7 separate regions of the Homo sapiens genome follow, and all the other regions are linked to region 1. Evidence: promoter capture Hi-C in 16 types of primary human blood cells and fetal thymus (Javierre and others, 2016). All regions are on one chromosome and are shown on one strand. Each heading gives the region's core, a stretch centred on a gene start or on the middle of the fragment in contact. The rest is flanking DNA. Distances are from core to core; before and after follow the strand shown.

Evidence for each region. The method cuts DNA at HindIII sites, captures the fragments that hold promoters and counts their contacts. A CHiCAGO score of 5 or more calls a contact.
Region 2: a fragment that was not itself captured here is called in contact with the fragment with the promoter of MRPL46 in region 1 in 1 of 17 cell types (erythroblasts); the score reaches 5.5 in erythroblasts.
Region 3: a contact is called between a fragment that was not itself captured here and the fragment with the promoter of MRPL46 in region 1, in 1 of 17 cell types (M1 macrophages). The highest score is 6.3, in M1 macrophages.
Region 4: a contact is called between a fragment that was not itself captured here and the fragment with the promoter of MRPL46 in region 1, in 4 of 17 cell types (M1 macrophages, M2 macrophages, erythroblasts and 1 more). The highest score is 7.3, in M1 macrophages.
Region 5: a fragment that was not itself captured here is called in contact with the fragment with the promoter of MRPL46 in region 1 in 6 of 17 cell types (M2 macrophages, M1 macrophages, M0 macrophages and 3 more); the score reaches 18.2 in M2 macrophages.
Region 6: a contact is called between a fragment that was not itself captured here and the fragment with the promoter of MRPL46 in region 1, in 1 of 17 cell types (endothelial precursors). The highest score is 6.0, in endothelial precursors.
Region 7: a fragment that was not itself captured here is called in contact with the fragment with the promoter of MRPL46 in region 1 in 16 of 17 cell types (M0 macrophages, M1 macrophages, endothelial precursors and 13 more); the score reaches 22.8 in M0 macrophages.

The regions. Positions count from the first base shown.
Region 1 is chr15:88,465,275-88,469,273 of GRCh38, forward strand. MRPL46 (mitochondrial ribosomal protein L46) reads right to left here and starts at 2,114. Exons shown (of 4, transcript NM_022163.4): 1 at 1,876-2,114; 2 at 313-499. The coding sequence starts at 2,103. It overlaps MRPS11 (mitochondrial ribosomal protein S11), which reads left to right and starts at 2,434. Exons shown (of 6, transcript NM_022839.5): 1 at 2,434-2,508; 2 at 2,634-2,750. The coding sequence starts at 2,444. RefSeq lists enhancers at 449-1,648, 2,115-2,284. The HindIII fragment of the contact is 6,788 bases long and covers 1-3,999 here.
Region 2 is chr15:85,585,394-85,589,392 of GRCh38, forward strand. It overlaps AKAP13 (A-kinase anchoring protein 13), which reads left to right. Exons shown (of 37, transcript NM_007200.5): 8 at 309-430. Among named protein-coding and RNA genes, the nearest start is that of LINC02883, 170 kb to the right of the region's middle. The HindIII fragment of the contact is 3,190 bases long and covers 715-3,904 here.
Region 3 is chr15:85,679,516-85,683,514 of GRCh38, forward strand. AKAP13 (A-kinase anchoring protein 13) reads left to right here. Exons shown (of 37, transcript NM_007200.5): 15 at 2,643-2,697. Among named protein-coding and RNA genes, the nearest start is that of LINC02883, 77 kb to the right of the region's middle. The HindIII fragment of the contact is 2,379 bases long and covers 705-3,083 here.
Region 4 is chr15:85,703,002-85,707,000 of GRCh38, forward strand. All of the region lies in intron 17 of AKAP13 (A-kinase anchoring protein 13), which reads left to right. Among named protein-coding and RNA genes, the nearest start is that of LINC02883, 54 kb to the right of the region's middle. RefSeq lists a silencer at 1,851-1,980. The HindIII fragment of the contact is 4,594 bases long and covers 1-3,999 here.
Region 5 is chr15:85,754,324-85,758,322 of GRCh38, forward strand. LINC02883 (long intergenic non-protein coding RNA 2883) reads right to left here. Exons shown (of 6, transcript NR_120366.1): 2 at 3,928-3,999; 3 at 3,561-3,666; 4 at 1,499-1,633; 5 at 1,195-1,332; 6 at 618-918. Among named protein-coding and RNA genes, the nearest start is that of LINC02883, 2.4 kb to the right of the region's middle. The HindIII fragment of the contact is 1,562 bases long and covers 1,592-3,153 here.
Region 6 is chr15:85,780,035-85,784,033 of GRCh38, forward strand. The region is part of intron 1 of KLHL25 (kelch like family member 25); the gene reads right to left. Among named protein-coding and RNA genes, the nearest start is that of MIR1276, 11 kb to the left of the region's middle. The HindIII fragment of the contact is 7,893 bases long and covers 1-3,999 here.
Region 7 is chr15:85,834,989-85,838,987 of GRCh38, forward strand. LOC105370952 (a long non-coding RNA gene) reads left to right here and starts at 2,303. Exons shown (of 3, transcript XR_932580.2): 1 at 2,303-2,425; 2 at 2,985-3,142. The HindIII fragment of the contact is 177 bases long and covers 2,194-2,370 here.

The sequences.
Region 1 (3,999 bases), core at 864-3,363:
ATTTCACATAAAACACAGGAATTAGTGGAAAAAGGCTTCATTTGCCCCACTCTCAGTCTCAAACTTGGAGTTAAACACAGATAACATTCACAAAGTTTAACTGAGAGAAAAGGCTATTCCAATACCCTTACCTCTCACCCGAAAATAAGACAGACTTTTTAAGTCGTATTATGGTAGATGTGAGCAACAAAGAAAAGAATATGAAATTATTTGTTACTTAAAACACAAAGCAGGGGCCAAGCAACTGTCTTTTATTTGGGAATCCAAATACCCCTTTTCCCTTCCTTCTGGCTGGCCTAAAAGGATCACAACCTGTTATGCGAGCTCCAAGTTTGAACTGTAGAAATTTCTGCTCCCACATATCTTCCAAATCTTGCGCCAGCAATATATCCTGTTCATCTTCTTCATCATGAAGGTCAGCTTTCTTCTTTGCCAGTCGCTGGTTTTCATCCAGAGCACGAAGCTCGTGGTCTGAATACAGGCTTCTCTCTATCTCAATCTGGGAAAATTCAAAGGGCAAAAAACTACCTTAATCTGGCAAAATTAAAAGGAAAAAAAAAACAGGAAGAATAAAACAGAGACATGGCACACTTGGCAAGCTCAGAAGTTTATCACCCAACATAACCAGATACACAGTCAAAACACCATGCAGAAAGGAAATGGAGGGAAAAAAAGGTCCTCTGAACTTTGGGCTTGAGTTACATTTGCCAAAAATGTTACAATGTCACTGGGGGTCAAGAGTGCTACAAAAACAGAGAGCTGGGTTGGGCAATGCCTGCTGACTCACCACAATCCAGTCATGTCAGTCTTTGATCAGAATCTCACTCACCAAGGACTTTCCTGTTCAGGGACTTTCAAGAGGTTGTTCCTTCTTCCTAGAATGTTTTTCCTCACATTCTTTCTTCTGGGAGAGTCCTACTCATCTTTCTGATTTCAATTTAAATATGACTGTCTCAGAGAGACATTTCTCATAAAGAGAAAAACCTGTATTCAGAAAGTCTGAGGCATTCCTTGACACTCACCATAAAATCAAAATGTGATGTATTTGTTAAACACTCTTATAGTGCCTTGTGTTTTCCTTAACAACACTTATCAGGGTCTGCATTTAGTTGTATGATTATTTGGTTACTGACTGATCCCCTCACTCAACTAGACTGAAGTACTCTGAGAACCAGAGCTACTTCTGCCTTATTCATTACAGCATCTCTATCACTTAACATACTCTCTGATGCATAGTATGGGCACAATGAACATCTGTAGGTTGAGTAACAAATATTTGTCAAGCGAGCGAGTAAATGAATAAATCAAGCAAAAAGCACAGAAGAGAAGTTTATAGTTCTCAACAGACCAAGACAAAAACATCTCGGATTCTGAGGAAACATATCACCCTTCAAACACTTTCTGTAGCGACCTCACACCTTCACAGCCACTACACTGTTTTTGCCCATGCTTCCTCACTTGCCCCTCACACAGATAGCCCCATGAGATAAAACAGAGTAGGCTTATCATAGGCATCTGACAGATGTGCCCACCGCCTCTTGTATTTCCTTCTTAACATTCATCACATCACAAAGACTTTCTCCCTCCAGACTTGTAAGCTCCTAGTGACACGGACCGATTCTTGTTCACCACAGGATCCCTATTGTGTTGCATGAACAAGAAGTAGAGTATCTCCAAAGAGTTGTCTAAGGTGACAATAAACACGGCCAATGAAAAGAAACCACTTTTTGTTGAACATCTATGTACCAAACCAAGTCAGTAAGGTAGGTACCATTCTGCGGATAAGTACCGTATACTTAAGTTCAGAGAGGTGAAATTACTCGCTCAAAGTCACGCAGAATAAACGTCACTCTGAACCCTGCATCTCAGTCCCACCTGCTGCAGTAGAGACGCCATCTCTTCCTGCAATGGGGTCAACGGCTTGGAGACTACAGGTGGCCGCTGCAGGCACAACGCGCCCAACAAGCGCCATGGGGATCCGTTGCTTGAGGGTGCGGCTGCAAGAGCCAGGCTGCGAGAGCTTAGACTGCCGGCCCAGAGCCTCTCGAACCGCCGCCAACCCCCCGCCACCCCTAACAGCGTCCGCCTTACGGGCGCCGCCATCTTTCGTTCTCCCACAATGCACCGCGGCTCCCAGGGATCCCTCAGCCGCGGGAGCGGCAAACTAGGGGAAAGCTCAGTCCCGGAACTGCTAGAACGAACCATTCGCATATGGAGGGGGTGACCCACCATCTCAGAACATTAAAAAAGGGAAAGAATCCCCTGGTGAACTACAGTGAAAGTCTTATTGAGCATTTAAATGGAAATAAAAATATTCAGTGGACCTAATGAAGAGTAGATGACTTTCCCTTCTGTCCCCTCCCCGACAGGCACTCATGGTACCGGCGCCGGCGCAGCTGTGACTGTCGCTGCAGACGGAAACTGACTGGGGTCAATTCAAGTCATGCAGGCTGTGAGAAACGCGGGGTCGCGGTTCCTGCGGTCCTGGACTTGGCCCCAGACAGCCGGGTAACAAATGACTGCCCCCTCGAGCCCACCGCCACCTCCAGGACTATGCTCCTACTCGTGTCCCTTGAGCCACCCGGGCCCCAGTGACCGTTAGGCCGTGGCCCTCACCGAGCTTTTCTTCCCAGCAGGGTCGTGGCCAGAACGCCGGCCGGGACCATCTGCACAGGCGCTCGACAGCTCCAAGACGCTGCGGCCAAGCAGAAAGTTGAACAGAACGCGGCTCCCAGCCACACCAAGTTCAGGTGAGCCCCACTTGGACCAGCCCTCTGGAGACCCGCAACCCCTGACTCTTGCCCGACACCCTCCAGAGTCAGAACCAGTGAATTTTCAGCTATGTCACTTGCTATCCGTGGGACCTTATGCAAATAAATCTGAGCCTCAGCCTTCTCATCTAAAAATGCGGATAATGCTGAGAGAGGTTGTGAGAATCAGATGAGCCGTGGTACAGAGTAAATGTTCAGTGAACATTCGTTAAATCAATGAGTGAATGTGAGATATCCATAACATGTATCAGCGTTCTTTTCTTCTGAGATGGAGATCTTTTCAGACCAATAACCTTCCCTGCCTCCAAAACAAAATGGGGAGGTAGAGGGCGCTAGCGATGGAACAGATGTTCCTGCACGTCTTACGGATGGTCCAGGGTGGGTTTTGTGCTCAGCCCTAGGAACTGGCATCTTGCTTCCCACCAGTGCCACCACCTCTGTATGCTGTATACACATCCACTTAACTTCACATCCATTTAACAAACATTTACCAAGAATCTACTATGAGTGAGACACCATGCTAGGTGCCGTGAATACAGATACAAAAGATCATTCCTCCCCACAAGTAGTTCACAGTCTTTGAGGGAAGACAAACATGCAAACATTTTAACCATAATCTGCTCAATAATATAATGGAGGTAAGCATTGGTTGGAAGTATGAAATCATAAGTGTCTAACTCCTGGCCGGGTGCAGTAGCTCATGCCTTTAATCCCAGCACTTTAGGCGGCCAAGGTGGGCGAATTACTTGAGGTCAGGAGATCGAGACCAGCCTGGCCAACATGGCGAAACCCCGTCTCCACTAAAAGCACAAAAACTAGCCAGGCGTGATGTCTGGCACCTGTAATCCCAGCCACTCAGGAGGCTGAAGTAGAAGAATCGCATGAACCCAGGGAGCGGAGGTTGCAGTGAGCCAAGATCACGCCACTGTACTCCAGCCTGGGTGACAGATTGAGACTCTGTCTCAAAGAAAAAAAAAAAAAAAAAGAATAAGTGTCTCATTCCTGAGGAAATCAGGCAAGACCATGGAGAAAAGAACATGGAGCTCAGAAGTGAATGGGAGTTCATCTGGACAAGTTGAAGTGGGTCATTGGAGACAAAGGTAACCATCTGTGTAAAGGCATGTGGTATGAAAAAACATGGTGTGTTCAGGTGTGTATGTGATGGCAGATGAGGCCAACAAGACAAGAAGGCATCAGAATGCCAGGGGTCTTGTCTGTCACACTGGAG
Region 2 (3,999 bases), core at 1,060-3,559, 2.9 Mb before region 1:
CAAGTTGGTGCTACACTCAGATTTGTCATAAAAAGTCAATAGTGAAATGGATGTTCAAAAGACATTGAATTGGATCCTCGCTTAGTTCCAAGCGCCTACAAAGGCTAGGGAAAACCAGTAACCATGCGATAAAGGAATAGCTCAGCATAGGGTCAGAAATGACACTAGCCGCTGACAACAAAAGAATACTTTTCCATTTTAACGCAAAAGCAAAACAAAACACATGAAACCTGGAGCATGTTGTATGAATAGTAAGGCACAGGAATCAGTTTTTAAAAATGTACTCTGTAACCCCCCTGCACTTTCAGAAATGCCAGACGTGAAAGCTGAAGATGAAGTGGATTTTAGAGCAAGTTCAATTTCTGAAGAAGTGGCTGTAGGGAGCATAGCTGCTACACTGAAGATGAAGCAAGGCCCAATGACCCAGGCGGTAAGTGGCATCAGTAAGTCTATAAGGGCACAAAATGTGTTTATCCTGTTCTGCTGTGTCTTATTTATGGCTTTGTCTTTTATTTGAGGGTAAGTGGGCAAAATAGTATTTTCCCCCTTCCCTCTTGTGCTGTTATATAAATGTGTTTATGTTGCTGCAGCTAAGCTTTCATAAATGGTATATACCATACAGCAAAGTTTTGGAATGGGCTGTTACATGTTTTCTTATAGATTATGCTGAAAAACATTTTCCCCTTGAGCACAAGGCTTTAAGATTTGTCAGTAAGCTTAAATTGTCACAAAATCTGAGCTATCACAAAAGGGGATCTATAGACCTTTTCTTTCTTTTTTTCTTTCCTTCTTTTTCTTTTTCTTTTTTTTTTTTGAGATGGAGTTTTGCTCTTGTCACCCAGGCTGGAGTGCAGTGGTGTGATTTCAGCTCACTGCAACCTCTGCTTCCTGGGTGAAAGCGATTCTCCTGCCTTCGCCTCCTGCCTAATTTCAGCTGTGAGTAGCTGAAATTACAGGCATGCGCCACCATGACTGACTAATTTTTGTACTTTTTGTGGAGATGGGGTTTTGCCATGTTGGCCAGGCTGTTTTCGAACTGGCCTCAAGTGATCCACCTGCCTCAGCCTCCCAAAGTGCTGGGATTACAGATGTGAGTCATGGCACTCGGCCTATAAACCCTTCTTAAACCTGACTCTTCTTTCTTTATATAAAAACTGATAGCCAAAATGAGATTTTTACTTTATAGCTCAATAGTAACTGTCTAAATTATGAAGTATATCGTTTTCAGCAATGAAAAAACAGGTTCAATAGGCCAGACGCGGTGGCTCACACATGTAATCCCAGCACTTTGGGAGGCTGAGGTGGGTGGATTACCTGAGGTCGGAAGTTCAAGATCAGCCCGACCAACATGGTGAAACCCTGTTTTTACTAAAAATACAAAAAAATTAGCCGGGCGTGGTGGCAGGTGCCTGTAATCCCAGCTACTTGGAAGGCTGAGGCATGAGAATCATTTGAACCTGGGAGGCGGAGGATGCAGTGAGCCAAGATTGTGCCATAGCACTGTAGCCTGGGCGACAGAGCACGACACCTTCTCAAAAAAAAAAAAATAAGAGAATAAAAGGTTCAATCAACATTTTTTTTTTGTTTTAAGAATAGTTTGTTTTGGGATATGATTCACATACCATAAAATCCACCCAATCAAATAAAGTGCATAGGTCATTGGTTTTAAATAGATTTACAGAGTTCTGCAACCATCGCCACTAAGGCTCTAATTTCAGAACATTATCACTCTAAGAAGAAACCCCAGACCCATTAGCAGTGTGCCTTTCCTTCACTCTTCCCTCCCCCAGCTCATTAATCTACTTTTGCTTTCTGTAAATCCATAGAGAGATTTGCTGTGAGAGTGTGAAAGTGGCTGTAGATAGTACGTAAACTGCCCATTCCAGAACTTCATGTAAATGGTATAACACAATATGTGATCTTTTGTCTCTGGCTTCTTTCACTTAGCGTAATATTTTCAAGTTTCATCCATGTTGTGGCATTGATCAGTATTTTATTTCTTTTTATTGTCAAATACTGTTCCGTTGTATAGATATACCACATTTTTTTGTGGATTTGGATTGTTTCCACTTTTTGGCTACTGTGAATAATGCTGTTATGTACATTTGTGTACAAAATTATGTGGACATGTTTTTATATACCTAGTGGAGTTGCTGGGTCATATGGTAATTTCCATTTATTTGGCTTCAAAAATATTTTTCTTCAAGGTCTTGAGATTATTTTTCTTTGTTTAAAGCTATTAACTTTTATTTTATTTTATTTTTTATTTTTTTGAGATGAAGTCTTACTGTCACCCAGGCTGGAGTACAATGGCAGGATCTTGGCTCATTGCAACCTCCACCTCCTGGGTTGAAGCGATTCTCTTGTCTCAGCCTCCCGAGTAGCTGGGATTACAGGGACTCGTCACCACGCCCGGCTACTTTTTTGTGTTTTTAGTAGAGATGGGGTTTTGCCATATTGGCCAGGCTGGTCTCAAACTTCTTATTTCAAGTGATCCACCCGCCTTGGCCTCCCAAAGTGCTGGAAGTACAGGCGTGAGCCTGTGCACCCAGCCAGCTATTAACTTTTAAAACAAACTTGTTGAGAGAAACAGTGCCCTATGCTTTAGATTCCATGGTGGTCAAAAAAAAAAAATTAGAAAGCTGAAAATCAAGTTAGTGAACTTACTCATGCTGCCCCTTTGAAAGTCCATGTTCCTTGGGCTACACTTGACATTGCACTGTTTTTACTCTTCAGAGGACTAAGTGGTATGTTTTTTTGAAATTTCACGGTAGGTAAATGGAACAGACTATCCCAGATTGTTTCAAGAGTATGAACAGTGATGAACAAACCTTGTTGTATTGGAGTACTGTGGTATGAAGGTGCTGACTGTTCTAACCCGCCCTTATTACACATAATATTCATGACTAATGCCTGGGTGGCTACTTGTAAAGCAGGCATTATTCAGACAAATGTTGCTTTTACCCCTGTGAGAAGAAAAGAGAACACACCCTGCATGGGTACGTGTGTCTTTGTTTCCAGAAGCCCCTTAGAAAGGGAAGGAAAAAACTCACATCCTTGAATTCAAATACCTCTGTTTCTTAGTACTCCATTTTAATATTGTAGTGATTAGAGTCATTGAATCCAGGCTGGTACTTGGCTCTAGACCCTTTGCTTTCTGATGAGGGATATCTCTATTCTAATGGTATCTTGTCTACTATAAAGAAGAAAACAAAACATGACTTAAAGAAAAGAAAAGGTCTCCTCTCTCAGTCCCTTTCCTCTTCTCCTTTTTTCTCTAGTTTTAAGAGTTGAGAGAGTGAATATTCCTCTGGTTGGTCAGCATACCTCAATTTACAGATAAAAGAATAGACCCTTGGAGAGTCACATGACTAGCTTGAGGCCAAAGGCAGCTGGAAGAGTTTGAGGTTTGATTTCTAATCTGGGACTTACACAACAGGGCGATTCCTCCTTGACTCAAGAAACCTGGGCTCTGATTGGTAAAGTTGCTATAAGAAGCCTGAGAACCATGTAATTTATCTCTAGCTGCGAGATATCAATGCCTTATGCTTTGTGTTTGCTTCCACCGTGTAGAGTTGGGGAAAGCATATGTCAGTGGGATTTTCAGTTCTTGAGGATTTGCAGGCCTAAATTCAGGAAGTTTTTGTGTTCACAGCATTCTTATAATGATGTGAAATCTGACTACTTAACTCTTCTCCGTGGTGCTCTGACAAACTTGCCTTATTTGCTGTGAGTTGAAAGGATAAAACAGACACACACTTTAATTTTTCCCATTTAACTCTTCACATACTATATTCATATAGGTTTTCACTGGATGGGGAAAGAGAGCAGAGGTCGGCAAACATTTTGTAAAGGACAGATTTTGTAAATGCTTTGTGGGACATATGGTCTCTTAAAACTAGTAAGCTTTGCTGTGAGTATGAAAGTGTCTGTAGCTAGTATGTAAACAAAGGAGTGTCACTGTGCTTCAATACAACTTTATTATGGACACTGAAATTT
Region 3 (3,999 bases), core at 644-3,143, 2.8 Mb before region 1:
ATGCTAACGTTGTGTTACGTTGTGGATTTTCAAGGCAGTGTTCAATATACTGTTTCTCCCAAATGTATTAACTAGAAAACCACAATATGTGCAGCACTGTATACAACATTTCATGAAACTGGTGTTCCACGGAACACACTCTGAAAAATATCAACTGTGTCCATCCAGTAGTTCCACCCTGAAGTTCCTGGCTGTAGTATAAATCTGCAGGTTATTTCATGCCTTGAAAGATAATCTAGTTGAAATATATTATTTACCCACAATAATACTTTGCAGGCTAACTTTAATGACAAGTTTCGTTTCGTTTCATTTATTTTGTCCATAATTTTGTCATGGAAGTAGCATTGGTTGTTTTCTACCCTTAGGTGCTCTGAAAACTTGATGATACTTTAGGAATTTCAGAGGCATTGGTGGATTAATTACTGTGTTCAGAACCACATCTAAAAGGTCATCATAACTTAACTAAAATTTTTAGCAGTGGAAAAGTTGAAAATATTATAGGAGTCATAGATTCTCCTAGTACTCAATCACATATGTGTTCAGTCTTTAATTTATTCCACACATATCTGCTGGAAGCTTATGATTGGCCCTGCTTTGTGTTGGTTGGTATTTTTCTGCATTATGAATTTTATTTTTATTTAGTTCATATTACTAGGGTGGTAACTTACTAGGTAATTGCTTAAATGTATAGTAGAATCCAGGCAAGCTTAGAAAATTTAATGCTGCTCCTATCACTGAAGTTTCCTTGGGCAGAAAAGGTTTTAAAACCACTGATTTAAACTATCCTCTTGATTTTTTTTTTAAGTACACTAATGCATCATAAGATTAAAATGCTGATATTTTACACCTAGATTATGCAGAACCTGGGGATGGATCCCAGATATTCTTATGCTGCTAATCTTTCCCTCTTACCTGGCTGTTGTTACCATGTGTTGTAAGTGAAATGAACAGAAGAAGAACCCTAAACTGGGAAAAAGGAAAAAAATACGGAAGGCAATCTTTTGAAGACTTAGAATTTGTTTTAAGGTTTCTTATGTATTATTCCTACCTGTTGGCAATTTAAATTTAGCCAGGTGCAATGGCTCACCCCTGTAATCCCAGCACTTTGGGAAGCGGAGACAGGAGGATTGCCTGAGCCCAGGGGTTCAAGACCAGCCTGGGCAACATGGCGAGTCCCTGTTTCTAAAAAAAATTTGTAACAATAATAGATAAAAATAATAACTACAGTTTTGGATTTCTGTTCAGAATCTGGAACAGTTTGAGAGTTGAAGAGTTTCAAATGCGGGTAATCTGGGAGTTTTTTTGTTTGTTTTTGTTTTTGAGATGGAATCTCGCTCTGTTACCCAGGCTGGAGTGCAGTGGCGCAATCTCGGCTCACTGCAACCTCGACCTCCTGGGTTCAAGCAATTCTCCTGCCTCAGCCTCCCGAGTAGCTGGGACTACAGGCATGCGCCACCACGCCTGGCCAATTTGTGTATTTTTAGTAGAGAAGGGGTTTCACCATGTTGGTCAGCCTGGTCTTAAACTCCTGACCTCAAGTGATCTGCCTGCCTCTGCCTCCCAAAGTGTTGGGATTACAGGCATGAGCCACCGCGCCTGGCCCAAATGCTGGTAGTCTGGTAGTAGAACATCTTCAAATCTCTATCAGATTAAAGTTTTGCTTACAGTAATCTCAGAGATCCTTGAAACCAACCTCAAGGAAAAAGGAAGGTGTTTTGTCTAAATCGTTAAAATAGTGTTACAGAGTAACCTTTGTTTCCCTGGAATATACATGGAAATAGTTCTATAACTGATGTCCTGAAAATTGAAAATCATTTATCACTGTGACTGAGGTCTTGCTCTCATCTAAGTCTTCAGTAACTCAATCTTTATTAACATGTGGTAGATAAAAATAATAATATTCCTTCTATTTTTTCTTCATATTGCCCTATCTGACATAGTCTTAGAATTTTAATGACCTGCGGCAGTTTATGGTCCAGTGGTTGTGGAAGGAAGAAGTACGCATCTGCCTCATTCATTTTTATCTCTATTAGCCTGGAAAGGACTTTGCCATCTGTTTTATCTCCCTCATTTCACAGATGAGGAAATGAAATCCAAAGGTCTCATCCCAAATTAGTGACAGGGCGAAGACTTGATAAGCCAGCTCTGATGCTCTTTCCTGTTTGCTAATCTATTTCTAGCAATTCTCATGAAAATATTAGAGATGAGCTAGATCTTATAGAAACATATAAAAGCAGTATTAACGGATAAAATATGACATTTAATTTCCTATTCTATATTCTTCCTATGATGTCATCTCAGAAGGATGGTTTGTGCAAACTGAAGATTGATAAGAACTGGAATTAAACATGCTTCATATGTGTTTAAGCATTAGAAAAAGTTATTTGGAGTCTTTTTAGTTACTTGAATCCTGGATTAAACTTATTTTCTTCATGAGAAATTCACTACCTACTTCTGGTTCTAATTTGAGGGTTTCAAGTTTAATTTTTCCTTCTTTCAAACCTTTAGAAGGAGGAGGTACCATGTGCTGACTTTCACACGCTGTTTTTGCTTTAGCTGTGTCATTGTGAATTTATAAATATTCTACCCGGCATCAGTGTTAAATTTTTTGGTTCTAACTTTTTTTCTGCCTTGTTTTCTAGATTCACGGCCCTTCCACAGTACCTTCCACAATACCAGTGCTAATCTGACTGAGAGGTACTATAAATTTGTTACTCCTTTTTCCAGAAATAAAATGAAGAAAATTTAAAATCTCTTAGGCCATTTAATTACGTAAACTAAGTTAATTGAGCTTATTGGGTTCTTCTTTGAGTGATAAACTTGGAATAATGATTAAAAGTGGTTTTGTCATGAAGGCTATACCTTAAAGTTAATGTCTTCAGTAGTTTTATTAATTATACTGTCCTCATGATAAAAATTGGTTGTATTTATTGATGTGAGGGTACACTATTATTTGACTTTATGAACTTGTGCACCCTTTGCTTATGGGATTTTTAATTCCTAAATCTAACAGTCTAAACAACATTTTGTTTCATATTAGTGTCTGTGTGTGTGTGCAATTTATAATAGTCTTAGCTATTTTAAGCTTTAAAGCTGTTTTCTTCTGTATACATGTAAATGATACATAGCTCTGTCGAAGTAAACGAATTGATTCTTTTTTTTTTCTTTTGAGACAGAGTTTCGCTCTTGTTGCCCAGGCTGGAGTGCAATGGCGCGATCTTGGCTCACTGCAACCTCTGCCTCCCAGGTTCAAGCCATTCTCCTGCCTCAGCCTCCTGAGTGGCTGGGATGACAGGCATGCGCCACCATGCCCAGCTAATTTTGTATTTTTAGTAGGGATGGGGTTTCTCCATGTTGGTCAGGCAGGTCTCAAACTCCCGACCTCAGGTGATCCATCTGCCTCAGCTTCCCAAAGTGCTGGGATTACAGGCGTGAAATTGATTCTTTACTTGACAGCAAGCAAAAGATTTCTGTTCTGACTCATTATTTTTATTTAGGTTTTCATGCTTATGAGATAGAATATTCTACTTGAAGTTTAATTGGGGTTCCTATGGCTGCCCTGCAGTTTTTTCTGAGTTGCCTTCTTTTTCACAGAGGCATCAGTTATGATTCTGATTTAGAACCCTTGCAATGAATGCTTCTCTTTGCACTGCTTTTATAGCTTATTCTTTCTCCTTTCTACAGCAGTGGTTTTCATACCATTTCCCCCTTATCTTAAAAACAGACTGCTGTATTTTGTAAACAATGCATATATAAATAAACTGACTGTTGACAGGACCCCTTGTGGTGCTGCTTCTGCCTGCCACCTGCCCTCTCACAGAGGCCCTAGAGGCAATCACTGCTGTTCTGTGGGAAATGTCTAAAATATTTTAGAACACCTAAGCAAAGTAGTATAAATGGATGCCTTTTCTATATAACGGATTGTTTATTTGAATGCCCAGCTGCTCTTTTGTTTGTTTGTTTGTTTTGAGACAGAGTCCCACTGTGTCACCCAGGCTG
Region 4 (3,999 bases), core at 938-3,437, 2.8 Mb before region 1:
TGAGATTATTGCTGATTTATTTTCTGTTGTGCTAGCAGCATTTCAGTACTTTTGTGGTAGGTTGTTTCTTTTACATAAAAAATAAACAAGTAAACCAGCTGCAATCTAAGTAGGAAACATAAGAATTTAGAATGTGTGTGATGGTTAGATTTTACTTCTGATTTCATCAGAAAAGTTGCCCTCTAGACAGTTTTCTGGCATTTATAGTTCATTGCTTATATGAGAGAATAAAATACATATAGTTGATTAAAGGAAGGAAGTTTATTACTTAGGGAAAAGGAAGGTAAAAAAAGACCCTAAGCAATAAAGGCAATTCTTTTTTAAGCAGAATACTTTCATTTTATTTCATTTTTGTTTACCAGTGTTGTTACGAAAACTGCTGCTGGGGCTACTTCAGCTGAGATGATTTGGCTCTTTTTTGTGGCTTTCTTCTTGTTCTGTACATCAGCACTGTGGTTATTACACCAGCTACCAAGAACATCTCACATGCCTTTTGCATATAAGCACTCTTAGTCCAGATAGGGCGATGTCTCAAATCCCCCAAAGATTTTATTTATTGGCCAGGTGCCGTGGCTCACGCCTGTGATCCCAGCACTTTGGAAGGCTGAGGCGGGTGGATCACCTGAGGTTAGGAGTTTGAGACCAGCCTGGCCAACATGGCGAAATACCATCTCCACTAAAAATACAAAAAATTAGTCAGGCGTAGTGGCATGGACCGGTAATCCCAGCTACTCAGGAGGCTGAGACAGCAGAATCACCTGAACCCAGGAGGCAGAGGTTGCAGTGAGCCAAGATCGTACCACTGCACTCCAGCTTGGGTGACAGAGCAAGACTCCATCTCAAAAAAAAAAAATATATATATATATATATACACACACATATATTTAATAATTTTTTTTTGAGAGACAGGGTCTCTGTTAAAGATTTTAAACAAGAAGTTTAAAGTTGCAGAAAGAATTTTGTAGCATGCATTTCTAAATTTGCTCATATTTAACTGTTTTTTGTTTTATTTTCATTTTCTTGGTTAGAGTTGAAATGATAGGAGAAAGTTGTGCATTTCTATCCTTAAAGGTAATTCCTCAACTTGTGTCCTGGAGAAGAATCAGGTCATTTTTCCCAGTTAGATTTTGCTGCTCACATCTGTAGGCAGAACAGTCAGAAGTCTTCAGCCTATTCCCAAGTGATGATCAATGAACTGAAGTACTGGAAGACCTTTTTTGTCAGAGCCTTGGCTGCATATGACTCAGCTCCCAAAGGTGGCTCGTTTCTGTGTAGGCAGTCCTTTGATATTCTGTCATTTCATTTCAGTTTGGCATGGCCACTCCTCTTATCATTGTATAAAGTTGATTTTCTTAAGTTAGCCTCGCTAATGGTTTGTTTTATTTTTCTTCCGAAAGATAAAAAACACATAGTATATAACCATTCGCCAAAGATCTGTGGTGGTTGGTGGCATGGGTTAAAAAAAAGATACAGCAATAGATAGATGATAGTTTCCAGTCATGTGGGTTTAACTTCATTTTCTTTGGTTTGATGCCTCCTTGTAGCAAAGAAAGAAGTTGAAGGCTGGACTGTTTGTTTTAGGTACAGAGGAATCCGATTAGGGATCAGCTCTGTTCCCATAAACCACTGTGCTGAGACCTTTTTGAAGAATTTTAAAAAATGAAAGCATATTGCCTACTGCTATTAGGAAATCTATCAAATAAATAAATAAAAGGCCAGATAATTATTTTCTGATCTTCATAACAACATGGTATGGTTTGTGGCAGAGAGCTTAAAAATGTATTAGATTTGTCTTCAATTCTTGTGTTCTTGGTAATTTTCTGTTTTCCCAAACAGAGAGTAAGATTTTAGTCTCATGACTTTGGCTGATGTCAGTGGGGCTGAAGTTTCTAAATCACCCACGCACAGCTCTAAAACTGTCACTGTGAATTGAGTCCAGGACAACTTGGAAACAAGTTGAGTGTTTTTCAAGTAGGTACTTCAGCATGTTAAGGAGATGTCCATGCAAACTATCACTAAGAGAAAACTCATGACCATAATATAGAGCGTGTTAAACTTCCAGCTGGGTTGTGGGTTTGGGGACATGTTTCAATTAATTAAAAGTGAATTTATGTGAAAAGTTCTTTACTAGAAGCACATTTTAAATGATTTTTTTCTGCTTCTATGTTCATCTCAGACACTCAAACACTGGCCTGAGAGTTTGAATATTGCTGAAACCTTTTTACGTGATAGTGCCACTCCCTTAAAAATCATCATTGCTTAAATCTCTGTAGGGTGTTGGAACTGGTTGGGAAGAAAGGAACAGAAAGAACAGAACTTGGAAACAAATTCTGCCCATAGTGTTCTTGGTCACTTTTGCAGATCAGAATTAGTAGCTGGTTCTCCAGCAAATCTGCCACCTCCTGTGTTGCCCTTAGGTGCCTAAAATATTATAGATTTTCAATAAAACAAAAGAAAAAAAATATACTTTTTTAACTGGATTATAAGACAATAAAATCTTATCTTTAAGTTATCACAAGATGCGATAAATGGATTATGCAAAAGGATATGGAAATGTTTATAAGCAAATCCAAGGAACTTTGAACGACATTAGAGTGTGATGATTTTTTAAAAATTAAAAATTTTTTTTAATTTTGAAAAATGTTAATACAAAGTATTATACATAGGTAATTTATCACATATGTGTCCATGATTCAGAATGAACACATAGTAACATTCTGTCAGACGGCTTCAGATTGTTTCACTTTTTAAGAAACCATTATGGTTAAGTTCAGATTCCCCTTTGTTTCCCTGCCCCATGCATCTTCCTTCCTCCCCAAGGACAAGGACTGTCATGAATTCAGTGCATTCGTAGTCTGTGTTTTATAATTTATTTTCATACATAAACAACATATAATTTGTTTTTGTTTTTAACCTACATAAATACTACCATACAGTACCTCTTTTTGTAATTTGCTTTATTCTCTTCAGCATTATATATTGAGGATTCAGCACGCTGAAAAACATAGATCTACTAATCATTGACTTTGCCTTTTCATAGTCTTTTTATACTTTTTCTGTAGAAGGGAAAGAGAAATGGACTTAAAGATGATGTATTTGAAAGACTTTAGCTGAGTGGGGATTTGTGAAGAGAAAGGGTTTGAGTGGGGTGGGCTTTCAAGTCTGTGCATGGGAAGGATATGATGGATCAACTAATGGGAGAGGAAGAAACCAGAAAGGAGCATGCCAGCTGCAAGTCCTGGGCATCTCTGTGGCAGAGGAGGGGAGGTGCACCATACACCCTGAGTAAGAATAGTGCTCGTGAGGATGGGCAGAAACATGTTTTGGCTTACTAGAAAATAAATAAAGCCGTTTGCCTCGACCACTTTGTTATGCTTCTTGCTGTGGGTCCAGCAGCCTGAAACTCACTTACCCATCTGATAGAATCACAGCAGAGGGAACCTGGGGGAAAATGTGATTCCTCCTTTTTAATTTTATAGATGAGGAAACGGAGGCCTGTCAAGAAGGGACTAGGGTCATACTAGTACATACATACATGCAGAGCCAGGACCTACGTCAAATTTAGTTTGACAGCTGTTTGTCCTTTTGTGTTACTAAATTGATGTTTGACATACTGTAATCAAGGCTGTGTCAGCGCATTCATCTAATTTTAGTTTAAATAGGCATAGTAGGGCCGAGAGAGGAGCATTTGAATAGGATGCATGAGCTAGGCACTATGCTGGAGAGTCTTAATTTGAAGATTCAGCAGTGGGTGAATGGTCCCTGCCCCAGAGAGGGGATAGAGAAAAACCTAAGAGAGTCTCAATACACTGTGCCAGTGGTATTAAGGAGGAGACCTGTGAACCAAGTGGGTGTTAAAGGAAGTGTTACAAAAGGCATGGAATAGGCCTTTGAGGTCTGGGATTCTAGCAGTCTCCTTTCTGGTTTCCTTCCCTCCCCATCATCACTCCAGTCCCCCACAAATCCATGTGTCTGGGCTAAAAGAGATGTTGGCCCAAA
Region 5 (3,999 bases), core at 1,123-3,622, 2.7 Mb before region 1:
CCTTTGAACCCTGTGATTGCAGTAACCATTTCTCTGGGGTGGCTCATACAATTCCAAGCCATGGAAGGAGGACAAAGCACTTGTGCCAACAGGAGGGACGACCCGCCTCTGTGAGGAACCTCCTGGTGGGCTCTGGGCTTCCTGGCAGCCACAGCTAAAAGGGAAACTTTTTGTTGTTGTTTATTGTTTTGAGACAGAGTCAAACTCTGTCACCCTGGCTGGAGGGGCAGTGGTGCAATCTCGGCTTACTACAACCTCTGCCTCCAGGGTTCAAGCGATTCTCCTGCCTCAGCCTCCTGAGTAGCTGGGAATACAAGCGCCTGCCACCACGGGGGTTTCACCATGTTGGCCAGGCTGGTCTCGAACTCCTGACCTCCAGTGATCCACTTGCTTTAGCCTCCCAAACTGCTGGGATTACAGGTATGAGCCACCGTGCCCGGCCAGAAACATACATTTTTACTGAAATTGCCTTCAACTCCCCAGAAAGCTGGAATACTTTCTTTCTAGTTAATTTTCACACACACACACTCTCTCTCTTAAGTTGGAAACGTATATGGGGCAAAGGAAATGGACATCATTGACAGAAATCTAGTAGCCTCTTTACCCGATTTAGTTCAATCCTTACAACAGGCAATATGATCTGTTTTTTTCTTTGTTATCAATGAGGAAATGAAGTTACAGGAGCAGAGGGACCTTCCCAAGGAGGGCCACCAAGTAGAAGAAAAGCTGCTGTTTGCACCCAGCTGGCTTGACTGCAGTGTGGCCCCTCACGCTGCACAGCACAAACTGAGGACCCACGTCCTGAGGCTCAGCTGAGGGAGCCAAGCACATGGGCTGCAAAGATCTGGCCTTGATCCCGGAGCAGAGCTCACACTACTGCTGGGAGGAGGAGACAGGCATGGCAGGGACCTCGCAGGCCTACAGGAAAGGCAGCCACAGCTGGCAACACCAGCTTGGAGGGCAGACTGGGAGCTGAAACCCCGCCCCCCCACACCCCGGCCACCTCTCTCAGGCAAATGTCACAGCTGCATTTAACAGTGCTGGCTTTTCGGTATGGCCTCAACTCCCATTTTAAAAATCTCACTATTTTCCATGGGAAGTGGGGAGATGGAGAGAGGGAGAGACAGGACCTGCTCCTCGACAGTCTTGGATGAAGCCCTAGTTAGGGTTGTACAGATGAGAGACACAGAGTACCTCAACGTTCACTCTGCAGAGTGGACAGAAGCGGGGCCAGCTTCGAAAGCGTTGAGGAAGCTCACAGGAGCCAATGTGAAGAAAGTGCGGCCATGGAGGAGTCATCCGTGGCACTCGCTCTCAGAGCCTGCATTTATCCTGCATGCACGTGTCAGGATGAGACTGTGCCATCCTGTTCCCTCTGCGGTCCCGACGCTGGTAGAGCCACCACAGGGTGGGCTTGGCAGGATGTGTCTCTTGCTCCCATCCTCCCTGGTTCCCCACCATCCCTGCAAGCTGAGTGGAGAAGCTGTGATGAGTCTACCTGGAAATGGCTTTGGAGCCCTGGGTCCTGGCATGGAGCTGGTGCCCATCAGTAGAATTACTTAATCTATCGTGCAACCCAGGAGTGTCTGGAAGCTTCTCTGCGTACCAGAGCAACGCTGCTCATCTCCTTTACCTGCAGAAAGGACAGGAAAGGAGTCCAGCCCTACTAAATTCAACTCAAAAAAGCCACTGCTCCCCTACTGCAAGCCCTCAGGGGCCCGAGCGCCAGGTGCCAAACCCAGGCCAACCCCAGGGCCAGAGCAAGGCCCCTCAGGTTCAGGGGGCCTGGGCAGCTGGGGCCAGACACACAGAAACTGCCAGAGCTTCTGCTGCCATGCTGAGCATGTTTCCTCAGCTTTAAAATGGTGACCTCAACAGTGACTGGGGCTAGGCAAGGTGGCTCTCACCTGTAATCCCAGCACTTTGGGAGGCCGAGGTGGGCGGATCACTTGATCACTAACCTCAGTCAGAGGTTAGTGAAAACAAAGGTGTCATTCTTCTCCCACCCAAGTGCATGGACCCCCTGAATTTGATCCCAAATCCCAAGTTAAGAAGCCTCCGGCCTATTCTAGGCTTTTCCTTGACCTTTAATGAGGCAGAGCCACATCCCAAAGCCCAACAAGGCAAGGGAAGATGCAGGACAATACTGTGCCCGTTCTGGGAAATTCACCCAAATCACCCTGGCTCCCTGGGCAGGGCCTGAACCTCTGCAGGTGCCATGGGCGGGCCAAGCTGCAGGTCAGGTAGGGTTGGGCCTGAGGGAAGAAGAGCAGCTGGGGGGCCGATCACCTTCATGGCCTCTTCAAGTTGGAAGAGACCATTCCCACCTCCTGAAGGAGAGAGGCCGGGCAGATCCATCGGGGCTGGGCCTGGGGCCGGGGCTGGGACATGATGGACGGGGCATGCAAGTTTCTTGCTCTGCGAAATATCCCCCCAGTGATGATCCAGAAGAACCAAGGCTCTTTCCAAGCTGTGCTCATTAGACAACTGCTTCTGAAGAAGTTGCTTCTTTCCCCACTATGATTCTACAGCCTTCGGTGTTGAGCAAGGGATGGTTGCCACACACCCTTGGGGTGGATGACTCTGGGCTCATTCTTGTCAATTCCTGACCAAAGAAATGTCCTTTGAAGGCAGGGAGACCTGGCTGAGCAGCCAGGTGGAGGAGGCAGTTGGCTACCCTCTCCTTGCCCTTGGCAACTTGACAGTCCCCCCAGGCAGGCTCTCAGGATGCCAAAGCCTCCAAGATGGCCCGTTTTCTTTCCTGCATCAGGCACAACCCAGGAAAGCTCCACTGGCCATCTTGGGACCGAGGTTTCCAGGGAGACCTTGCCCCATCACTGATGGGGAAGGCGCCTTCTCCCTTCCCCAAGCCCCATCCCAGACTCAGTCTGACCCCTGGGAGGCCAAGGAACATGGAGCTAGGCCTGCTGGGCAATGACTGGAAGCAACACTGCTCCCAGCCCCCAGCCCCCACAATGTAGCATATGGCTTGGTTTCAAATCCCAGTTCCACTGCTGTAATGTGGCGGCCATTCTCCCCCTGTAAAGGGCTATCTGGGCATTGGTCCTGGTGTTTAGTGCTTTATAGAATTTGACCTCAACTTTTAACCCTACTATCATTAAGTCTGTATCAGAGAATCAAGTGGTTTAACCAAGCTTGCACATACATGAGAGCCACACGTGAGAGCTTGAACCCAAACTCAGGTGGGCCTAGCTCCAAATCCACATTCTGTCAGTTGCAACCGTGTTTTTTCCTCCTCCTCCTCCTCCTCTTTCCAGCATGAGACATTGGGCAAGTTACTGTGACCTGTGGACCCATTTCTTCATCAGCAAGAAGAGGACAAGAATGTCTACCTCCGGGGGTCACTGTGAGGGTTAAAGGAGGTAGTTATGCAAAGCACTGGCCAGTGGGCTTGACAACTGCTTGACAAGAAGGGTTTGACAAGAGCCAGGATCTTGGCAGATGACGGCTCTGCATGCTCCCAGAGAAGCGGGAGGCAGGGCGGTGTGCCCAGGTTCCTTCCAACCCCTGACCCAGCATGTAGAGGAAGAGGCTGCTACCTGTCTAATATCTACGCTCCCTTTACTTGGCGTTGGAGTCCTGGAGTTTCCTCGGGGCACTTTCCAGTCCCGCTCGCAGTCAGGCGTGGATGTGACTGAGTTCTAGCTGTTGGGAAAATGGAGAAGTTATGGTGCAACTTCTGGGACATGCCCTTAAAACAGGCTTGCCCATCACTTTCTCTCCTCCCCTTTCCACTGGCTGGAATGCAGATGGGATGGCCGGGGCTGCGAAGGCCAGGGTGGACCAGGAAACCGCTGCCTTGCATGGAAGACGGCAGGGCAGGGAGAGAGGGGGTGGGAGTTGGAGAGAGAGGGAGAGAGGGGGAGAGAGTTGGAGCCCTGTGGGCCACAGCTGGCTCACACTCACCCTGTGACTGTGTGACAGGGAACTTCACCTCTGCTGCTGTCTGGACTCTAGCTGGAGCCAACTCCTGGCTTT
Region 6 (3,999 bases), core at 1,049-3,548, 2.7 Mb before region 1:
GAGGCTTCTTTCAGCTCAAGGAGGGGTGGCAGCCCCTCTAAACTGTCAAGGCAGATGGAAGGTGCCGCCTGGCTTCTACCTGCCACATGCCAACCCCCTCAGGTTGGGGGTGCTGCCCAGGCTTTCTCTGGACCCCAGAGCTGGGAGTCATCTGCAAGCCCAGCTGCTGCACCAGACGGGAGTAATGCCAATAAAGTGGACTCCACTGCTGTCACCACAGAGGGGACAAAGAACTCAGCACTCAGGTTCACCCATCTGGTGAAGTAACTCGTTTCCTTCCACTTATCCAGAGCAAGCCAGAGACAGAAACAAAGAGGGGCAGCGAGATTGGCTCCCTCCAAAGCAAACGTGGCCTCCTGAGGAGGATTCCCCCTCTATGGCAGGACTGGCCTGGCCCTTTGCAAACAGATGCAGTCTGAGGACCTGGAGGGAGGCTGTCTCTCTTCCTGTCTGGTCCCACAGATGGAGCCATTAAAAGCACTCTGGCCTAGATATCACTTTCAATGAACCACCAGGAGTGACAGTCTTGGAGGAACACAAACATGCAGAACAGAACAAAAAAAGAACAAATGCCAAGCACTGGCCACTTACTGGTAGTGAATTTCTTTCTCCCTGTTCTCCAGAAGCTCTGTTCTTCTCTAGGCTGTCAACGCTGATGCTGAATCAGAATGAGAATGCCTCTCAATTCCCAAAGCCCAAGACACAACTCTTTCTTTACCCGCTGACAGAGATGAGAGCAAGGGGAGCATAGTTGGCACAATCTCTTCAGACAACAATTGGGAAACATCTTACAAAATGACAAATGCATGTGCCCTCTGCCCCAGCATTTCCACTCCTAAAAATTTCCCTTCCATCATGCCTGCACATGGTTACAAAATGGTTACACACCGCAGCATGGTTACAAAAGGAGGGGCTGCGAACAACTACAATGTTCACGAATAAGAGGCCTGGTGAGATAAACCTGGGTACACGCACAGAGTGGAGTTCCACACAGCTATCTAAAAAAAACCAAAGGGGCCGGGCGCAGTGGCTCATGCTTGTAATCCTAGTACTACTTTGGGAGGCCAAGGTAGGTGGATCACCTGAGGTCAGGAGTTCCAGACCAGCCTGGCCAACATGGTGGTGGCGGGCACCTGTAATCCCAGCTACTCAGGAGCCCGTATCCCAGCCCGTATCAATGAACTTTTGTACTCAGTGGCATTCCCATCTGACAGCCTGTCCTGCACTTTGAATGGATTGTTTACCCATGTGTGATTCTGTAACATCAGGCATCGGCCATTTGGAAAACATCGGTTCACTGAGTTATGCACTCTGGAGAGAATGAGTGAAAAGGGCAAATAATGTTTTAGTATTACCACAAAAATAGTTTTGACCTTGTGGACTCTCCACCAAGAGAATCTCAGGGACACCCAGACCACACTTTGAGAACATTGCGGTAGCGGATTTTTCTTTTTTTGTTTTTTGAGACAAAGTTTCGTTCTTTTTGCCCAGGCTGGAGTGCAGCAATGGTGTGATGTCGGCTCACTGCAACCTCCACCTCCTGGGTTCAAGCAATTCTCCTGCCTCAGCCTCCCAAGTAGCTGGGATTATAGGTACATGCCACCATGCCGGCTAATTTTTTCTATTTTTAGTAGAGACGGGGTTTCACCATGTTGGCCAGGCTGGTCCTGAACTCCTAATCTCCAGTAATCCACCTGCCTCGGCCTCCCAAAGTGTTGGGATTACAGATGTGAGCCACCGCGCCTGGCCAGAAGATTTTTCTTATCTTCCACACTAACCACTGTTTTTTTTAAGAACTAAGAAAAAGAAAATTCTGTAGGAAGCATGGGGGCCTATGCAGGGGGTCTCCATCCCGTTTGTACTGTGATGCACTAGAGCCTGCTGTCACCGGAGGCAGCTGGACCCAGTACCCTCTCACCCACTGCTGGCTGCCTCCCTCTAATGACCTGGCCCTGCCTGCTCCTCCCTTCATTATCAAAAGCCTTCTCTCACCCACAGGACCACCTCATCCTTCTCCAAAAAAAAAAAGACCTTGGGTTTGCAGAGGACAGGCCCTCCAGTAGCAAAGTACAGGGGCCGTGAGTAGACTGCTACACTTGGGCTTTGCAGTTGATAATTCTCGGTCTCTTGAAATTACATATGTACGTTTATTTATAGCAAAAACATGGGTGCCCATAAATAGCCAGTCATTCATATACACATTTTTAGCATATGGTTTAGCCACCAAGTTCCACTGCATCATCCTTCCTGGGACCTTGCATTGGGGTTTTCCTTCCCAGTCTTGCGTCACCACTGCAGGCCAGGTTATGGTCAGGCCCCTGAACCCTTTCTTCCCACACCTACCAACCCAGTGCCAAATTGTGAGCGCTCCTGCTCAAAAGCCTTCAAGGAGGCTTTCACATCCAAGCTGTGTTCAATCGGTTCCCTTTCCAGCTTTGTCCCACCCCCAGCCCCTCTTCCTCCCTCTCTCGGCTTTAGCTCTCCCCCTCCCTTCCTCTCATTCTCCCTGCTCAGCCCCACACCCTCACCTCCCCAATCTCTCCTTTCATAGCTACACCCCACTCTGGATTTTACATTTGTCGGGTATGTGGATGGCCTTGTCCACAGTACATGCTCAGAAAATGAATGCAGTAAGTACACTGAAATCTGAGCACCTACAATGTGGTGCCCCATGCGACACACAGGGCATATGGCATGCAGTAAATAACATAATTTTGTCTTGTCTCCTAGAATGAACGTTCTTCTGCCCTCTGTGCCTTTGCTGCAGCACGGTAGCCTTTCTTCTACTGCTGGACAGCACTGTTCACTCCTCAGGTCACTGCGTATTGTGCCCTTCTCTGTACTGGCAGCTCAAGGACATTGTTCTGTGTCATCTTTGCTACCTAGAATCGATTAGATGCTTAATAAATACTGCTGAATGAAATGGGGATTAGCCACAATACCCACGGGAGAAAGAATCAAAATGATCCAGAGATCTGTTAGACCCACCTGAGAGTTCCCTGGTGCCTGCCTGGTACCTGCCGTATTATATGCAATATAATCAACATATACCATATTTAAACATTTTATTTATTATTTATTTTGAGACATAGTCTCACTCTATCGCCCAAGCTGGAGTGCAGCAATGCGACCTCGGCTCACTGCAATCCTCCAGCTCCTGGGTTCAAGCTATTCTCCTGCTTCAGCCTCCCAAGTAGCTGGGATTACCACGGCTGGCTAATTTTTGTATTTTTTTTTTTGGTAGAGATGAGGTTTTGCCATGTTGGCCAGGCTGGTCTCGAACTCCTGACCTCAGGTGATCCACCTGCCTTGGCCTCCCAAAGTGCTGGGATTACAGGCATGAGCCACTGTGCCCAGCCATATTTAAACATCTTAGGCCAGGAGTGATGGTTCATGCCTATAATCACAGCACTTTGGGAGGCTGAGGTGGGCGGATCACCTGAGGTCAGGAATTCAAGACTAGCCTGGTCAACATGGTGAAACCCCCTCTCTACTAAAAATAGAAAAATTAGACAGGCTTGGTGGCAGGCATCTGTAATCCCAGCTACTCAGGAGGCTGAGACAGGACTATCGCTTGAACCCAGGAGGTGCAGCTTGCAGTGAGCTGAGATCGCACCACTGCACTCCAGCCTGGGTGACAGAGCAAGACTCCACCTCAATAAAAAAAAAAAAAAAAAAGAATTTTAAATGCTAGATGGGAAAAAGCAAACCTTAACTCTTTTCTGGATGGTGTTCCATAAATCATACAAAGCGAATTGCAGATACCGACCTTGGGCAGCCTACCAGGAAGGTTAGATGCTAAGAGTCCCTGGTTTCAAATCCCAGCACTGCCATTGCTACCTGTAAAACTGGTCCAAGATACTGAAATTCTCTGAGACTCAGTTTTCTCATCTGAAAAACAGGGGTGACAATAACTGTCCTGACCTCGAGGTACCATCCTCAGAATTAAGAGAGAATACACGTAAAGAGTGTAGCATGGTGGGACACAAATTTTGCTTG
Region 7 (3,999 bases), core at 1,032-3,531, 2.6 Mb before region 1:
TAGACAAGAACATTAGCCTTCAAGGGTCTTCACTCATTCATGGGAGATCTCAGAGGGAGCCTCACACACATACCCACTCTGTCAGTTGCAACCCCAGACAATGCCCACCCCTTTTTCCTTTCTGGTTCTGGTTTCCACCTGTGCACTAGTCACAGTTTTCTTGTCATTATCACCACAAAAGGGGCCACCTGAAGAATGATGTGCTGCTGACGTCTGGGCCAATGTAGCTTGTTCAGTGTTTGAAGGCCCTCACTCACTGCTAGAATCTCCAAAAGACTCTCATAAAGGCAGCTTGAGCTTCCACCTCGAAGGTCTTAAAACTTGTCCAGGCCGGGTGTGGTGGCTCATGCCTGTAATCCCAGCATTTTGGGAGGCCGAGGAAGGGAAATCACCTGAGGTCAGGGGTTGGAGACCAGCCTGGTCAACATGGTGAAACCCCATCTCTATTAAAAATACAAAAATTAGTCAGGTGTGGTGGCGCATGCCTGTAATCTCAGCTACTTAGGAGGCTGAGGCAGGAGAATCGCTTGAGCCTGGAGGTGGAGGTTGCAGTTAGTCGAGATCGCATCATTGCATTCCAGCCTGGGTGACAGAGCCAGACTCTCTCTAAAAAAAAAAAAAAAAAAAAAATCATGCATCCCTACTACATGCAAATCTGTTTAGTCATATAGTTTATACAGTTAGCACTGGATTTATATAGGGTGTACCTTAAAACCATGCACAAAGTAGAAATTACAAGGATGATACTTTTTCATAAATTATAAACATTAATGTATTATGCTCATTAAAGCCATATATAAAAAGAGAAATGTAAAATGGGGACATAAGAATAACTATAAAAATAAATTTAAGAAATAACTATATTGCACTGGATGCAGTGGCTCACATCTGTAATCCCAGCACTTTGGGAGGCAGAGGTGGGCTGATCACTAGGTCAGGAGTTCGAGACCAGCCTGGCCAATATGGTGACACTCTGTCTTTACTGAAATTACAAAAATTAGCCGGGCGTGGTGGTGCACACCTGTAGTCCCAGCTACTCGGGAGGCTGAGGCAGAGGCACAAGAACTGCTTGAACCCGGGAGGCAGAGGTTGCAGTCAGCTGAGATCACGCCACTGCACTCCAGCCTGGGCAGCAGAGTGAGACTCTGTCTCAAAAAAAAAAAAGAAAGAAAAGAAATAACTAATAACTATATTGGCTGGGCACGGTGGCTCACGCCTGTGATCCCAGCACTTTGGGAGGCCAAGGCGGGCAGATTACCTGAGGTCAGGAGTTCAAGACCAGCCTGGCTAACATGGTGAAACCGTGTTTCTACAAAAAAACTAAAAAACTTAGCCAGGCGTGGTGGCACGTGTCTGTAATCCCAGCTACTCAGGAGGCTGAGGCAGGAGAATTGCTTGAACCTGGAGGCGGAGGTTGCTGTGAGCCGAGATCACAACAATGCACTCCAGCTTGGGCAACGAGAGTGAAACTCCGTCTCAAGAAAAAAAGAACTAACTATAAAAAATAAGTTATTGGCCAGGTGCGGTGGCTCACGCCTGTAATCCTAGCACTTTGGGAGGCCGAGGAAGGTGGATTACAAGGTAAGGAGTTTGGGACCAGCGTGGCCAATATGGTGAAACCCCGTCTGTTCTGGAAATACAAAAATTAGCTGGGCGTGATGGCAGGTGCCTGTTGTCCCAGCTACTTGGGAGGCTGAGGCAGGAGAATTGCTTGAACCTGGGAGGCAGGGGTTGCAGTGAGCAGAGACCGCGCCACTGCACTCCAGCCTGGGTAACAGAGTGAGGCTCTGTTTCAAAAAAAAAAAAGAAAAAGAAAAAGAAATAAGTTCTTATCTTTTCTTCCTCCACTCCAGTGAATTTTCTCCCCTCCTCACCCCCACAGGGTGCCTGTATCTCATTTTATTTATTTTTTATTATTACTATTATTTTTGAGAGTAGCTGGGATTACAGGCAGGCACCACCACACCCAGCTAATTTTTTTTGTATTTTTAGTAGAGATGGGGTTTCACCATGTTGGCCTGGCTGGCCTTGAACTCCTGACCTCAGGTGATCTGCCCACCTTGGCCTCCCAAAGTGCTAGGATTCCAGGCATGAGCCACCGTGCCCGGCCTGCATCTCATTTTAGAAACCAGACTATTCTGTCAACATCTGCGTACTTGCCAGCTGCCTATTTTACAAGTGCAATTTCACTTAAGCTTCATTGCCACCCTGGGCGTTTCTACCTTTGCTTTCCATATCAGATCAGAAAACAAACTGAGCTAGGCTACATGACTCATTCAGGACACACAGTGAGGAAGTTAGGAGCCTGATGTTGACTCCTGTGTTCGTTTGCTCAGGCTGCCAACACCGACTGGGGGCTTCAATAATGGAAGCTTATTTTCACACAGTTCTGGAGGCTGGAGTTCCAAGATCAAGGTTTTGGCAGGTCTGGCTTCTTCTGGGGCCTCTCTCCTTGGCTTGCAGATGGCTGCCTACTCATGGGGTCCTTACACGGTCTTTTCTCTGTGCTGACACATCCTGGTGTGCCTTCCTTTTCTTAGGAACAGCAGTTCTGTTGGATTAGGGCCCTGCTCTGTGACCTCATTCGAACTTATTACCTCCTTAAAGACCCTAACTCCAAGTACAGTCATATTCAGAGACACTGGGGGTTAGGGTTCCAACGTATAAATTTTGGGGGGACAAAATTCAACTCATAAGAGTTCCCAGGCCTATGCTCTCTAGTCACTGGGCTGCCCTGCTTGGCTGGCCTGAGCATGTGACCTGAGGACACCCACTACAAAGATAAGTGCCCCTATGGCCTTCCAGGGGACAGCCCCAGCAGAATCTTAACACTCCTGTAAGATCTCTTTATCCCCTGCTTCCAGGATCCTGGTGCACCCATCCTTCTGCCTGGAATATCCTCTTCTCTCCTCTAATCTGCTCCCTTGCCACCTTCCCCACCTCCCCACTGGTCTAAGTCCTCTCTGTCTTCTCTGTTCTTCCAGCAAACTCCAATGTCATCTCCTCCATGAAGCCCTGGCTGCCACTCACAGAGAAGCAGGCTGAGTCCTGCACCAGGATGCCTGGCTGAGGAGCAGAGTGGCATAAAAGCATTTGCTCTTTGTTTGCAGGCCGCTGGGCCCAGGAGGCTGGGTCTGTTCAGGTAAGCTCCTTCTAATTTGCATCAACACTCATAAGGGGTAGGATGGCCCTGCAGTGTTGCTAGAAGTGATTTTTCTCTTCTGTTCGTTTCCATAAAATTTTATGGTACCTCTCATATACCATTCTGTGTTACTGGTATTTTTGTATTTGAATTGTCTTCTTATCTAGAAGGTGAGTTCTGAGAGTGCAGGGATCTTATCTTATCTTCATTCATTCATTCATTCATTCTTTCTTTCCTGCACTCACTCCATAAAGACCATTGAGATTCCACTGTGTTTGTTCAATTAAAGCTTGCTGAAAGAATACCTCAGTGAAATGCCCCCTGCCCAGGTAGCCTGTGCTCCTCCTGTATCTTCTTCATTCAATCCTCCCTGCTCTTTCATCCAGTTTACAGAATCAGACCCTCCACACACTGGCTTTTAGAGCTAGGGTCAGGTGTGGGTGGCCAAGCAGCATCTGATATGAGCAAAGGTGGCCCTGCTCTTCTCTGACCTCTTTACAGACCCCAAGTGCATTCTTTGCCAAAGCCACCCCAACCCCATTCTCTGCGAGCATTCCCTCCCCAGCTGCACCCTGCCCTCCCAACTCCTAGGATAGTCCACGTGGCCCTAGTAGTGTAGATGGAGCACATTCCAGGGCTCCCTCAGAGGGAGGACAGAAACTTGTGGAGCAGGAGGCGTCCCTTAAAGGAGGCAGGCAGAGAGGTGGGCCCTCGTCCCGGGTCAGGATCCTAGCAGGAAGCAGATACACCTTAGCTTCTACTGGGGAGTTGCCAGGAAACGATTGTGCGTCAGTCTGCACACTCCCAGTTGGTAGCTTCTGGAACATGGAGTAGAGAAACCTGGAAAAACTGAACAA